Linked DNA regions of Homo sapiens: region 2 is linked to region 1. The links are contacts of gene promoters, found by promoter capture Hi-C in human tissues and cell types (Jung and others, 2019). All regions are on one chromosome and are shown on one strand. Each heading gives the region's core, a stretch centred on a gene start or on the middle of the fragment in contact. The rest is flanking DNA. Distances are from core to core; before and after follow the strand shown. Region 1 holds the start of ARGFX (arginine-fifty homeobox). Region 2 overlaps CASR (calcium sensing receptor).

Region 1 (7,076 bases), core at 1,026-3,525:
CATTCTCTGAACTATGAGAATCTGTGGCCAGTAGTCCTGTTCTGTGGAGTATTAAAGAAAATTCTTCCTAAGAGGGAAAATTGGAACTTCAAGAATAAAGGAAAAGCCACACATATGGTAAATATCTGCTTACATATAATAGGTCTTAAATGTTTAAAAGCTATTTGGAATATATATGAAGATTGAAAGCAAAAATTACCATGTTGTTTACTGGTTTTGTTTTGTTTACTTTTAATTTTGAACTAATTTCAGATTCACAAGAAATTGCAAAATAATATATATGGTTAAGGTGCTGCACACACTTCAGCTAGCCTCCCTCAATGGTGACATCTTGCATGTTATTTTACTTTTTCACTCTTATTCTATAACAAATGTACAGGGGAATAAATTTAGAAGAGCTTCTTAATTCATAAACCAATATTTTGCAAATGACCAGTATGTAATGTTACAAAATCCTGCATGGGTAAAAGATCCACTCAAAGTTCAATGTAGACCAATGGATTTTAATGTCACAGAATTTGGAAAGTTCATTCATATGATTTCAAATTTCACATTGCAGGACGGGCATGGTGGCTCACGCCTGTAATCTCAGCACTTTGAAAGGCCGAGGAGGGTGAATTACTTGAGGTCAGGAGTTTGAGACCAGCCTGACCAACATGGTAAAGCCCCATCTCTACTAAGAATACGAAAATTAGCTGGGCGTGGTGGCACGCACCTGTAGTCCCAGCTACTAGGGAGGCTGAGGCAGAAGAATCGCTTGAACCCAGGAGGCAGAGGTTGCAGTGAGCTGAGATCATGTCACTGCACTCCAGCCTGGGCGACAGAGCAAGACTCCGTCTCAAAAAAAAAAAAAAAAAAAAAGTTTTCACATTGCAACTCATCTTTAAGAAACTGCTACTTGTTGAGTTTGTGTTGTAATTTCAAAGAATATCCACAATTATTTCAAAGGCTACAAGAATACTCCTTTTTCTAGCATCATATCTGTATGAGGTCAGATTTTCTTCTTACACTTCAATAGAGTAATGCATCAGAAAAGGTGACTGCAAAAGCAGGAGAGAATTCTGCCATCTTCCATTAAGCCCTAAAGTACTAAAATGTAAAACAATGCCATTGGTCTCACAATTTTTTTTTGTGTGTGGAAAATATAGTTAACACGTCACGCATTTATCATTTTATTTTGAAAGGAATGAATAAATATATTTTAATCTCAGTTTTCACTTTGAATATGGTAAATATCTAGGTATATCCTATAGAAACAAAAGTTCTTTGGAGTCCTTAACAATTTTTAAGAATATAAAGAGGTTCTGAGACCAAAAAATTGGAACAGCAATAACAACAGATGGCCTAAGGCTTAGCATTTAATTGAAAAGAAATTAAACTTCACTAAGCATCTGTTCTTCAGTACAATCCTAAGAGTAAATAAATGATGCAGTAACATTCAGTAGCAACATTAGGATACCGTCAGACATCCAAGTGCTTCATATACATGATTCATGTGATCCTCGACAAACACATGGGGTAATGGACAATTATTATCAACCTCTTAAAGATGAAGAGACATGAGATCTAAAAGTTTGGCCAGGTAGAGAAGAAGCATAGCTGGGAATGAATCAGGTCTTACTGACTCTTGTACACACAGTCTAAACCCTGGCCCACTTTCCTGGGATGGGCATTGAGAGTCTGTAGCTTAAACTAGCATATTAAAGAAACAAAGAAGCAAACGATTCAACTGGTCTACAGTGCTTTCCCTGATCGAGGCTATCAAGAGCATAAGGCAGAATTGCCACTAGCAGAACCACATTTACTCAGCAATTTTTTATTGCCTTCTTCCTACAAATGGGCACTTACATAGGTCTGTGGATTCTGCAATGAACGAAGTACACAAAAATAGTTGCTATGATGGAGTTTACATTCTAATTAAGGATTTCCAAAGGCCTGGCTAACACAGATGGAGAAAGTTTGGGAGCCCTGCAGAACTGACAACCACACTCAGTAAGTAAGGAGTCTCACATTCACTCCCTGATTTTCATGAGGTGAACAGTCAGTCTTTCTGACCTTCCTTCTGTCCCCAACCATCTATATCATGTCCCTCTAATGTGAATGGGCTGAGTGGTTTGCATCCTTTAATATTGCTCCTTTGATTTTTCAAATCCTCTTTGAGCACTTAAAGCCCCACATTCTGGCTACCCTCCCCGCTCCCCCATGCTTACCTGTCACGAATCCCCTTAGAGTAACCATTTTCAGTCCTACGTGGTGTGTCTCTCTCTGGAAATGCAGTTTCCTTAGTGTGTCCTCATGCAGAAGACCCTGTATTTAAATGTAATTTTTATACAATCAGACCTCCTCCTGCCCCTGCACCACCCAGACACACCCTGATGTCCCACCCTTCATTCATTCATTTGTTCATTCAATATAAGTATGCTTAGAGCATAGTGTAACTGTTGCTGAAAATAGTAATTATTCTTTTTTTATACTCAAACTTCCTACCTTTGACAACCCTTCAAGGCGACTCCTGTGCTTTTTGATGCAACCACCTTTTTACTTTTACACTTGCGTTGTTCAAAGTTTTAGGTGTAAAATTCCTCTAGGCGTGGTAACACACGCCTGTGGTCTGAGTTATTCGGGAGGCTGAGGTGGAAGGATCACTTGGGCCTGGGAGGTTGAGGCTGCAGTGAGCCCTAATTGCACCAGTCTACTCCAGTCTGGGCAACAGAGCGAGACAGCAAGACCCTATCTCAAAAAAATAAAAGTAAAGTTTTAGGAGTGTATCTTTAAAATAGTGATCTGATCTAAGAATTTTCTTATGGAATAATCCATTTATGTTTGATAGGATAAGAACACAGTAATCCCACCTTATCCACAGTTTTGCTTTCTGTGGTTTCAGTCAACTGCCACCCAAAAATATTAAATGGAAACTTCCATAAATAAAAAATGTGTTAGTTTTCATTTCTTTTCTTTTCTTTTTGAGACGGAGTTTCACTCTTGTTGCCCAGGCTGGAGTGCAATGGCATCATCTCGGCTCACTGCAATATCCACCTCCCCGGTTCAAGCGATTCTCCTGCCTCAGCCTCCCAAGTAGCTACGATTAGAGGCATGTGCAACCCACCAGCTGTTTTTGTATTTTTTTTAGTAGAGACGGGGTTTCACCATGTTGATCAGGCTGTCTTGAACTTCTGACCTCAAGTGATCCGCCCGCCTTGGCCTCCCAGAGTGCTGGGATTACAGGCGTAAGCCACCGTGTCCAGCCCTTTTTTTTTAAATGCTCAAATTTTAAATTGGCTGTACTGCTCCGCCCAGGATGTGAATCATCCCTTTGTCCAGTGTATCCATGCTGTATAAGCTACCTGGCCTATACAATGCAGTCGTATAGGAAGAAACCGAGGATCCTGGAATGTATCCCCATGGATAATGGGGGGATCACTACTTATTTCTACCTAATTTCTTACAATCTTTGTGTGTTTTTAACTTTTCCAGCCTTCTGTTAGAATGGTTGCCTTTTATTTTCTCCCCCTCTCAAATGGTATGTAAGTTATATGCAAGATTTAAAGTTACATTATTTTTATTTCTTTATTCTTTGTTTAGAGATGGTATTCACTCTGTCACCCAAGCTGGACTGCAGTGGTGCCATCATGGCTCACTGCAGCCTTGACCTCCTGGGCTAGAATGATTCTCTCACTTCAGCCTCCCCAGTAGCTGGGACTACAGATATGCACCACCACCCCCAGCTAATTAAAAAAAATTTTTTTTTGTAAAGATGGGGTGTTGCTAGGTTGCCCAGGCTGGTCTAGAACTCCTGGGCCCAAGTGATCCTCCTGCCTTGGCCCCCCAAAATGCTGGGATTACAGGCATGAATCACTACGTCCAGCCTAAGTTTGCTTTTATGTTCCTAAAAGTGGTCATTATTATTTTTGTCATAAATATTTATTTAGATTTAACCATATGTTTATCAAGTACTTTGATCATCATTGCTTCTTTCATCCTCTTTCTTTTGGGCACAGTTTTATTTTTTCTGATGTAGAATCAAAAATAGTTCTTTTAACTGTAAACATTTTCAAACTTTCTTTGTCTAAAATATCTTTATTACGTTATCATTCTTGCATAATAGGTTAGGTGAGTACAGAAGCCATTTATTTGAGAAGTCTGCTAACATCCAAACTTTTATTCCTTTGCAGGTAATTGTTCTCTACTCTCTAGTTGCTTTTATTTTATTTTATTTTATTTTTCTAAGATGGAGTCTTGCTCTGTCACCCAGGCTGGAGTGCAGTGGCACAATCTCGGCTCACTGCAACCTCTGCCTCCCAGGTTCAAGCAATTCTCCTGCCTCAGCCTCCTGACTAGCTGAGATTACAGGCGCTAGCCACCATGTCCCAGCTATATATATACACACATATATATACACATATATATATATATATGTGTGTATATATATATATACACAAAATACAAAAAATACATATATATATACACACATATATATGTGTGTGTGTATATATATATATATATATATGTATTTTTTGTATTTTTTTAGTAGAGACGGGGTTTTACCATGTTGGCCAGGCTGGCCTCAAACTACTGATCTCGTGATCCGCCTGCCACGGCCTCCTAAAGTGCTGAGATTATAGGCATGAGCCACTGTGCCTGGCCTCTAGTTGCTTTTAAAAGATGTGCACTTTGTCCAGAGTGTCTCAGCCTCCCGAATAGCTGGGAGGCATACAGGCGCCCGCCACCGTGCCCAGCTAATTTTAGTATTTTTAGTAGAGACAGGGTTTCAGCATATTGGTCAGGCTGGTCTCAAACTCCTGACCTCAAGTGATCCTCCCATCTTGGCCTCCCAAAGTGTTGGAATTACAGGCGTGAGCCACCATGCCCAGCCTCTCCTGAACTTTCAGAGCTGCAGCTTGTTTAGCCATAATGCCAGAGTCTGATATGTATCTTTTATCACTGTGGCTGATACTTTTTCTTGACGTTAAATTTTGTTTTTTCTGTAGTACTGTGCCCACTCAGCCCTGCCACCATCTCCCTCAAAATGACTGGTCTTACTTATTCATCTGTTTATTTGTTTTTTAAATTTATTCATTCATTGATGACTTATTAATTGAGCACCTACTGGTAACAAGCACTATTCTGGGACTAAGCAGAGTGGAAGGGGTCTCCAATTATGACTATAACACAGTTGTCTCTTGCTTCCCACTTTGGTAGTACTATCAGCTTGCTAGCCTACACTTCTCTGGACCAGGGAGGGGGCTCTGACCCTTGATCCTTCCTGCTGCTCTGCCAGCTGGCCCAGAGGGCACAAGTCTTAGACTAATGTATCAGATCTAGAAACAAAACATGAAAGCTGTTGATCTGCATCCTACCAAAGAAAGAAGATTCACTCTTGTTGCCCAGGCTGGAGTGCAATAGCGTGATCTAGGCTCGCTGCAACCTCCCGGTTCAAGCGATTCTTCTGCCTCAGCCTCCCTAGTAGCTGGGACTACAGGCGCCTGCCACCACGCCTGGCTAATTTTTGTATTTTTAGTAGAGATGGGGTTTACCACGTTGACCAGGCTGGTCTTGAACTCCCGATCTCAGGTGATCCGCCCCCCTCAGCCTCCCAAAGTGCTGGGAATTACAGGCATGAGCCACCGCGCCCAGCAATGCCTAAATCTTTTGGCATTAAAAGATTTAGTCATTTTTGGCCGGGCATGGTGGCTCACGCCTGTAATCCCAGCACTTTGGGACGCTGAGGCGGGCAGATCACGAGGTCAGGAGATCGACACCATCCTGGCCAACATGGTGAAACCCCGTCTCTACTAAATACAAAAAATTAGCCGGGCGTGGTGGTGGGCGCCTATAGTCCCAGCTACTCGGGAGGCTGAGGCAGGGGAATCGCTTGAACCTGGGAGGCGGAGGTTGCAGTGAGCCGAGATTGTGCCACTGCACTCCAGCCTGGTGACAAAGTGAGACTCTGTCTCAAAAAAAAAAAAAAAAAAAAAAAAAGATTTAGGCATTAAAGGATTGATCCAAGAAATGGGACAATAATTGACAGATGTTGCAGAAAGAGCTAACACAGTAGCTACAGAGAAACCTCACAATTTAACCCAATATCTGTCTCAAAATCTCTATCTTATTCTTTTCAGCAGTATCTCACTCCTTTTTTTTTTTTTTATGAGACAGGTCTCCCCTGAAGACACTGCTGGTGTGATCATAGCTCACTGCAGCCTCAAACTCCAGTGCTCAAGTAATCCTCAAGTAAGCCTCTTGAGTAGCTGGGACTACAGATGCATGACACCACACCTATTATTATTATTATTATTATTATTATTATTATTATTATTATTTTGTAGAGATGGGATTTCCCTATGTTGCTTAGGCTTGGCTTCAAGAGATACTCCCAGGCTGGGCACGGTGGCTCATGCCTGTAATCCCAGTACTTTGGGAGGCCGAGGCGGGTGGATCATCTGAGGTTGGGTTTCAAGACCAGCCTGTCCAACATGGCAAAACCCCATCTCTACTAAAAATATGAAAATTAGCCAGGCCCAGTGGTGCGTGCCTGTAGTCCCAGCTAATACTACTCGGGAGGTGGAGGTGGGAGAATCGCTTGAACCAGGGAGGCAGAGGTTGCAGTGAGCCAAGATCAGGCCACTGAACTCCATCCTGGGCAAGGGACTGAGACTCCATGTCAAAAAAGAAAAGAGAGAGATGATCCTCCCACCTCAGCCACCCAAAGTGCTGGGATTATAGGCATGAGCCATCGTGTCCAGCCAACTTTCATTTATTTATGCATTTTTGAGACAGGATCTTGCTCTGTTGACCAGGCTGGAGTGCAGTGGCATGATCATAGCTCACTGCAGCCTTGACCTCCCAGACTCAAATGATCCTCCCACTCTAGACTCCAGAGTTGCTGGGACCATAGGTGTGAACCACTGCGCCCAGCCCCTCAGCCAACTTCTTAAATGTCTCTTGGTTATCTATGCCTACCAAATTCTCTTATTCCTGTCAGTCTGTTGCACTCCTATCCATCTCCTCCTTCCTCCTTCCCTCCCTTTCTCCTCTATTTCTCCTCTTTTACCCTTCCTCTCTCTAAATCTCTTTCA
Region 2 (7,076 bases), core at 2,646-5,145, 700 kb before region 1:
TTAAATCAATGACTTCAGTTTCCAAATAAGTAACTACAAAAAGAAGAGCAAATTAAACTGAAATAAATCAGAAGACAGGAGATGACAAAGATCAGAATAGAAATAAATGAAACAGACAACAAAAATATAGAGAAAAATCACTAAAGCCAAAAGCTGATTCTTTGAGAAGATTAATAAAGTTGATGGATCTCTAGCCAGACTGATCAGAAAAAAGGGAGAAGATGCATATTTACAATATGATAAATTCGAGAAGTGACAACACTACAGATGCTGCAGACATTATAATTATAGTCTGAGAACATTGTAAACAATATTATAAATAAACTTATGCCAGTAAATTTGGCAAATTAGACGATGTGGACAAAGTCTTTGAAAGACAAACTATCAAAGCTGACTCATATATACCTAAATAGCATTCTATCCATTAAATAAATTGAATTTTCAGTTCAAAATTTTCCCACAGGCCATGGACAGTGGTTCATGCCTGTAATCCCAGCACTTTGGGAAGCCGAGGTGGGTGGATCACTTGAGGCCAGGAGTTAGAGACGAGCCTGGTCGACATGGTGAAACCCCATCTCTACTAAACATACAAAAATTAGCTGGTGGTGGTGGTGCATGCCTGTAATCCCAGCTACTCGGGAGGCTGAGGCAGAAGAATCTCTTGAACCTGGGAGGCGGAGGTTGCAGTGAGCCAAGATCATGCCACTTTACTCCATCCTGGGTGACAGAGCAAGACTCCATCTCAAAACAAAACAAAACAATCCCACAAAGAAAACCAACTAAAGGTGGCTTCACTGATGAGTGCTGCCAAAGATTTAAGGAAGAATTAATACCAATTCTACAAAAGTCTTACAGAACATCAAAAAAGAAGTCAATACTGCCAAACTCATTCTGAGGTCATCATTACCCAGACACCAAAACCAGACAAAGACATTACAAGAAAATAAAACTTTAGACCAATAGTCCTCATGAACATAGAAGCAAAATTTCTTAACCAAATTTTAGTAAATCAAACACACAAATACATGTACAAAAAGGAATATACATTATGACCAAGTAGGATTAATCCCAGGAACGAAAGGTTGGTTTGATGGTCAACTACAATAACATACTACAAAAGAAAAACCACATGATTTTCTGAATAGATACAGAAAAAGCACTGATGACATCCAACCTCCATTCCTGATAAAAGCTCTCGGCAATATAGGAATAAAAGGGAACTTTCTCAACTCTATAAAGGGCATCTATGAAAGTTAACATCATACTCAGTGGTAAAAGACTGAATGCTTTCCCCCTGATCAGATGCAGACAGTAATGTCTGTCCTCACTATATCTATACAAGATTATACTGGGAGTTCTAACCAGTTCAATTGGGCTGAATCAGGCCGAGTAAGATTGAAAATATGATCTAAATTCTAAACTGAAATAAACAAAAACAAGCAAACAAATAAAAAGGCCAAAATAATTTTTTTAAAGTTGCTTCTTTTCTTCTTTTAGGCATATTTATTAGTACAAATTAGGCTAATAAATTGTTCCTGATAAAGATTCTTAGGAGGCCTACATCAGTTAAAAATACAAGAATAATTTAAAATTTAATGGTTTCTGGATCTTTATGCCTCAATAACCCTGTTTATACTCTTAAAATCCTTACCAAAACATGCTTTCCTTCATGTAATTTACTTTGTTAACAATGCAGAGCTAAGTTCCAGCCCCAGTTTATGAAGTCAGCATTACTGTGGTTTCTTGTGTGAGAGTTTTCTGACCACTTCTCTGAGATCACTGACCTCCCTTATCTGTGCCTGTATCTAGGTACTGTGTTACTGTCCTCCACTGTCCTCTCAGGAGTTATTTTTGTCCCATTTTCTTTCTTTATTCATTTGTTTATTCAACAAGTATTTATTGAGGGACCACTACTGGCCAAGCAGGCACTGTTTTAGAAAGAAGAAATACAGTAATATTCAAGATGGACAGAGATGTCTAATAGACTCCAACCTGGTTGGCTGTGTGCACTCTCAATTATTTGCACACTATACTTTCTCTTTGTGTAAGGACCGAGGTGTCAGGACAATTGTTGAACACCCAGGGTTCAAGGCAGTGGACCAGTGTCTTCACTTGGAAACCACTGGCTGATCTGGCAGCCTCTCAGGAGCTAGAAGGCATGTGGTGCCCAGAGGGCAAAAGTCATTCTTTTAGCAACTCCTTTGGCCTCTTTGGGGAACAGATCACCTGGAGCAGATGTAGCTTTTTTACTAGCTAGATATATTACTTTAGGAAAATCATTCTGACTTCTCTGGGTCTTACCCTCCTCACCTACAAAAGAATAATACTCAAGACTAATATTTACTGCACATAGTATATAGGCACTATCCTAAGCACTCTGTGCATATTAAGTAATGGTATCCTCATAATAAACTTAACAAGTTTCATGATCTCTATTTCTCAGGTGAGAGAGAAAAGTGAGGCACAAGGACACTAAGTGACTGCCCAAGGTCATAAGGCAATTAGGTGGCAATTAAAATTTAAACCAACTCAGTCTGGCTTGAGATTCCAAACTGTTAACCATTACACTATACTACCTACTCACATGCAGGAGTGAAATTAGACATCTATTAAGTTGCCTATCTCTAGTTACAACAGGTTAACTGGTATAAAATGTAGGTTGAGAAAATGGACATATTTTAAAAATGAAATGGTAGAGATGTGTAATGCTTGTGGCAACATGAGGGGCCATAAGTGGGAAAATGGTCTAACCTGAATGACATCCTGATCTCCATGAGTAGCCAGGACTTCCCCACCTGGGGACTTTCCGTTATTTTTTTTATCAACTTTTTTGAGGTATAATTTATATACACTCATTTTAAGTGTATAGTTCTGAATTTGGGCAAATGTATATGCTTGGTAACTACCACTGCCACCTTCCCAAAAGGTTCTGTGGTGTCCCTGAAAGTCAACCTCTACCCACTTGCAGCCTTAGGCCACCACTGATCTGCTTTCTTTCTGTCAGTAGAGACAGAGTATCGCATAAATGAAATCATACACTATGTACTATTTTTTTTTAGTCAGTATTCTTTTGCTTAGCAGGACATTTTGTGACCTTTCCTCCAAGGAGTAGATCCTTCTCCGTATCCACAAATTTTATCTACCCTTCAAGACTCGTCTCAAATGATATTTTTTTTTCCTTACTTCAAATCCTAACCTGAATTGTATTGTACTATGTCCTCACAGCAGGTATATAAATAAAATCACATGAGTGTGGAATATTTTCTACTCAAAATTTGTACGTTATCCACTTATAATCAATAAATTATTATGCTTACCAAGTCATATCTCTAAGTCACCTCTTTAAACATCTTTAATATTTCTTTTGGCAGGCTGACTTGCAAGTTTTGCATTTGGGCGTTTTATTTTCTGCATAATATCTTGCCTTTAATTCACATAACAGGGAAGATGGAGATGAAAACCATTTCACTCCTAAGAGCAATGACAGGGAATCTTTAAATTGATAATGATTGATCCACAAAAAAAGCAACATAAGTTAGAAGATAATTTAGATATCTGCCCGAGAGAGAACACTCTTTTTATTATTTATTTATTTATTTTGAGACGGAGTCTCGCTCTGTTGCCCAGGCTGGAGTGCAGTGGTGCGATCTTGGCTCACTGCAATTTATGCTTTCTAGGTTCAAGCAATTCTCCTGCCTCAGCCTCCTGAGCAGCTGGGACTACAGGTGCCTGCCACCACACCCGGCTAATTTTTTGTATTTTTAGTAGAGACAGGGTTTCACCACGTTACCCAGGCTGGTCTCGAACTTCTGACCTCATGATCCACCCACTGTGGCCTCCCAAAGTGTTGAGACTATAGGTGTGAGCCACTGCCCCTGGCTTCTTTTGCTTTTAAAAAGGAACTGACAGTTCCTTTTAAAATGAAATATAAAATTTTACTTGAGATTATTATCCAATATTATATGCTTCCAAATTATTTATTTTATTTGGGGAGTAATATGAGGAAAAAGAATAAACGAAGGGGAAGAGAAACAAAAAAAGCTAGTAGAAAGATCCAAACATAGGAGTACTGCTTGAACCTGGGAGGCGGAGTTTGCAGTGAGCCAAGATCGGGCCGCTGCATTCCAGCCTGGGTGACAGAGCAAGACTCTGCCTCAAAAAAACAAAACACAAACAAACAAAAAGATCTGAACATAGAACATAACATACAGACACAAAGAGACTTACAGGCTCACAAAGAAAACACCACCAAGAAAGACACATAGATCTAAAAGAGGGGCAAATACAGGACATGCATGCACTTAGAAGCTAACATACTCTTTTATGCCATAATATTCCCATCTTGTGGTCTTTTAGGGTATTTCCCCTAAAAGATTTTAAAGTCAAACGGTTGCTCATTATAAGCATAAATGGAAATCACCTCTTGGCACACATTCTTAGTAGCGTCAATTGAATTAAACTGAACATTAGAGACTAGAAACCCCCCCACTCTGGTCTAGGACTTCCAGCTCTTATACAGATAATGAGGGCCAGGTCACACAGATAATGAACAAGATAATGAAGTTCATTATCTTGCCCAGTTCCTGTGGTAAGAGCATGGGGAAGATCCAGGCCCAATTCCCTTCTCTAACGCCAGCCATGTTTTCTTATCTCCCTTCCATCTTCTCTGGCTGTCCTCACAATTTATCCCCCATTCCCCAACTTCCAGCAGTACCAGGAATTCCTAGAAAGATCAGCTCCATCTGACTTCCATCTTCACCATGGCTGCACGCCTGTTTTCTGACTAGTGAGTGTTGGTGTGAGGTGCAGGAGAGTAGGAAGCACACCTTGTGCATGATCATCCTGAGAGAAGAAAGAAGGTGATTTCATACTTACATGATGTTCCACTCAAACTTGATAGTGGGCACGTGACCAAAGCTTGTCCAAACAGAGCCTAGAATACCTTGGCCACAGTGATTGATTCAAGAATGGGTTGTTGGCTCAAACGGTTCCCTGCAAAGGCCTATAGGTAGTGTTGACAGGTCAAATCAACTAGACTGCTATTCACTCATTCATTCATTCAATGAATATTCCAGCGACAGGCATTCTGAACATAGTACTGAACAATACAGGCATGGTTCTGGATCTTATGAAGCTTAGAGTACAGCAAAGGAGTAGTGAAGAGAGAGCTGGGAAGGGATGTGAGGAGGGCTTGGGGGTCTCCAAGAAGAGGTCAGGAGGCAATTGTGAGTTGTATGCTCATAAATCACCTGCTAGTGCTACTTTTGAGGCATATGAGTTGACTGATAAATATTTTTTTGGGGAGAAAGAAAGGAAAAAAATTGTGATTGACCCTTATAACCAGAATTTTAACTAATAAGTGTCTATTTCAGTCAATTAAAGAGCTGTGGAAGCTTAAGCTGGGTATATAAACATCAAAAATGAGGAAGCGAGAATGATCAGAAAATGTGTTGTGGGAATACGATTTGAAAAGACTTCCAGGGGAAAGTGGATTTTGAAAACAATTTAAATGTTCCTGGTGGAAAATGACAGCAGAGATAAAAATTGATGGCCCTTCTGGTGTGGGCTATGGCCTATGCAAAGATGCTGTGCCAAAAACTAATGAGTGATTTGTGAGGAGGTGTCATGCAGGTTGGCTTATAGGGGAAGAACTGAGAGAAGGCAGACATGGAGTTCCAGCTGGAGACTTGGATTAGATTATAGGTGATAAGTTTCCATATAGATCTTAATATTGAGAATGAATGAATAATTGCTAGTTGATTTCCTGATGAAGATATAGGTCTTAATAATGAGAATGAATAATTGCTAGTTCATCTCCTGGCCAAGACCTCAAATTCTGGAACGCCCATCCAACAGCCTGGGTTCCTGAGGCTCAAAGGAGACTCACACCAAGCACTCAGGACATTTTGGCCAATTTCCCATGTCATTCCTCCCTAGAGTTCTGATCCCATTTTCCTATCTGTGCTGTCTCCTGGGGAGATTTTTCCAGACCATGTAAGAGTCAGGAGAACATATCTTTACCTGGGCCATGGTTGGGTGAAGTGTCTGTGTAGTGGACATTTTGAATGTTGGCTGCTTTGCTTCTATTTCTTCCTCCTTTTGGTAATGGCATCCTGACTTCCCACTGGAGATTCACTCCCCCCTTACTCTAAGTCTATGTAGTCTGGAGGACTGCTAGCATCAGGGATGGATCCATGACTTAGGAATGGTCAATAAATGTGGTTTCTGGAACTTTTACAGGATATCTTGGGAAGTAAGGAGATCCTAGCTTCAAGCTGCTACAGAAGCTGAAAATTGCTAACCCTGGGGAATGAAGAACAGAAAGATGAGATGAAAATACCTAGCTGTACCTGGAACACTTCTGAGATTTTTAGTGACATGACCCACTCACTACATTTCCTCTTTTTTTGTTTATGCCAATTTGGTTAGGGCTTTCTATTACACAACTAAAAGTCCCAGTTGTGACTGTAGCCTGTCATGGCTTTTTTTTTTTTCTCACAGGTCCAAGGTCTGGTCTTGACCATCTGTATTTTATTTCCTTATCTGGAAGAGGAGCCATTGAAGAGTAGAACTGCCAAGTTTCCCCCTTGAAGCCTGTTTTTCCTTCAACCCTACTCTTGTCTTGCAGTTTTTTCAAGAACTGAGGTCCTCCTTGCATTGGACGTGAGAGGTAAGAAAGAAAAGACAATAGTAACAACCACCTAGAAGATTGCTCCCTTACTCCTCCTACTTAAAACCCCATACCTTAGCATCATCACTCCTGAAGACTTTAGAGTGCCTGACCTTTATTACAGCACCTCTATCTTGGCAAGGTAGGGGTTCCGTGTGAAGAAAGAAGCTCTGAGTACCCCACAGAAGTTAGAAACTTTAGCCAACAGTGATGGTTGGGTAAGAGGTTCCCATATAAGAAGGGCTGAGAACTTGAAGATTCTGGCCTATTTGACCAACTTAGACAGTCACTCCTTGTCTTTCATGAGAATCTCTACAGTGACTGATACAAGTTGTGTGCTTTTTGCTTCTTGGTATCCTTCCCAAAGGGTTTGTGGTGGTTGGGTTCTGTATACAAAGGTGTTCTA

Evidence for each region. Contacts are between HindIII fragments. The study calls those that stand out against the background at their distance.
Region 2: a contact is called between a fragment that was not itself captured here and the fragment with the promoter of ARGFX in region 1, in 1 of the 25 tissues and cell types used here (lymphoblastoid cells).

The regions. Positions count from the first base shown.
Region 1 is chr3:121,563,148-121,570,223 of GRCh38, reverse strand. It overlaps ARGFX (arginine-fifty homeobox), which reads right to left and starts at 2,275. Exons shown (of 5, transcript NM_001012659.2): 1 at 2,211-2,275. The HindIII fragment of the contact is 19,771 bases long and covers 1-7,076 here.
Region 2 is chr3:122,263,528-122,270,603 of GRCh38, reverse strand. All of the region lies in intron 4 of CASR (calcium sensing receptor), which reads right to left. Among named protein-coding and RNA genes, the nearest start is that of CSTA, 58 kb to the left of the region's middle. RefSeq lists a silencer at 5,416-5,517. The HindIII fragment of the contact is 7,327 bases long and covers 232-7,076 here.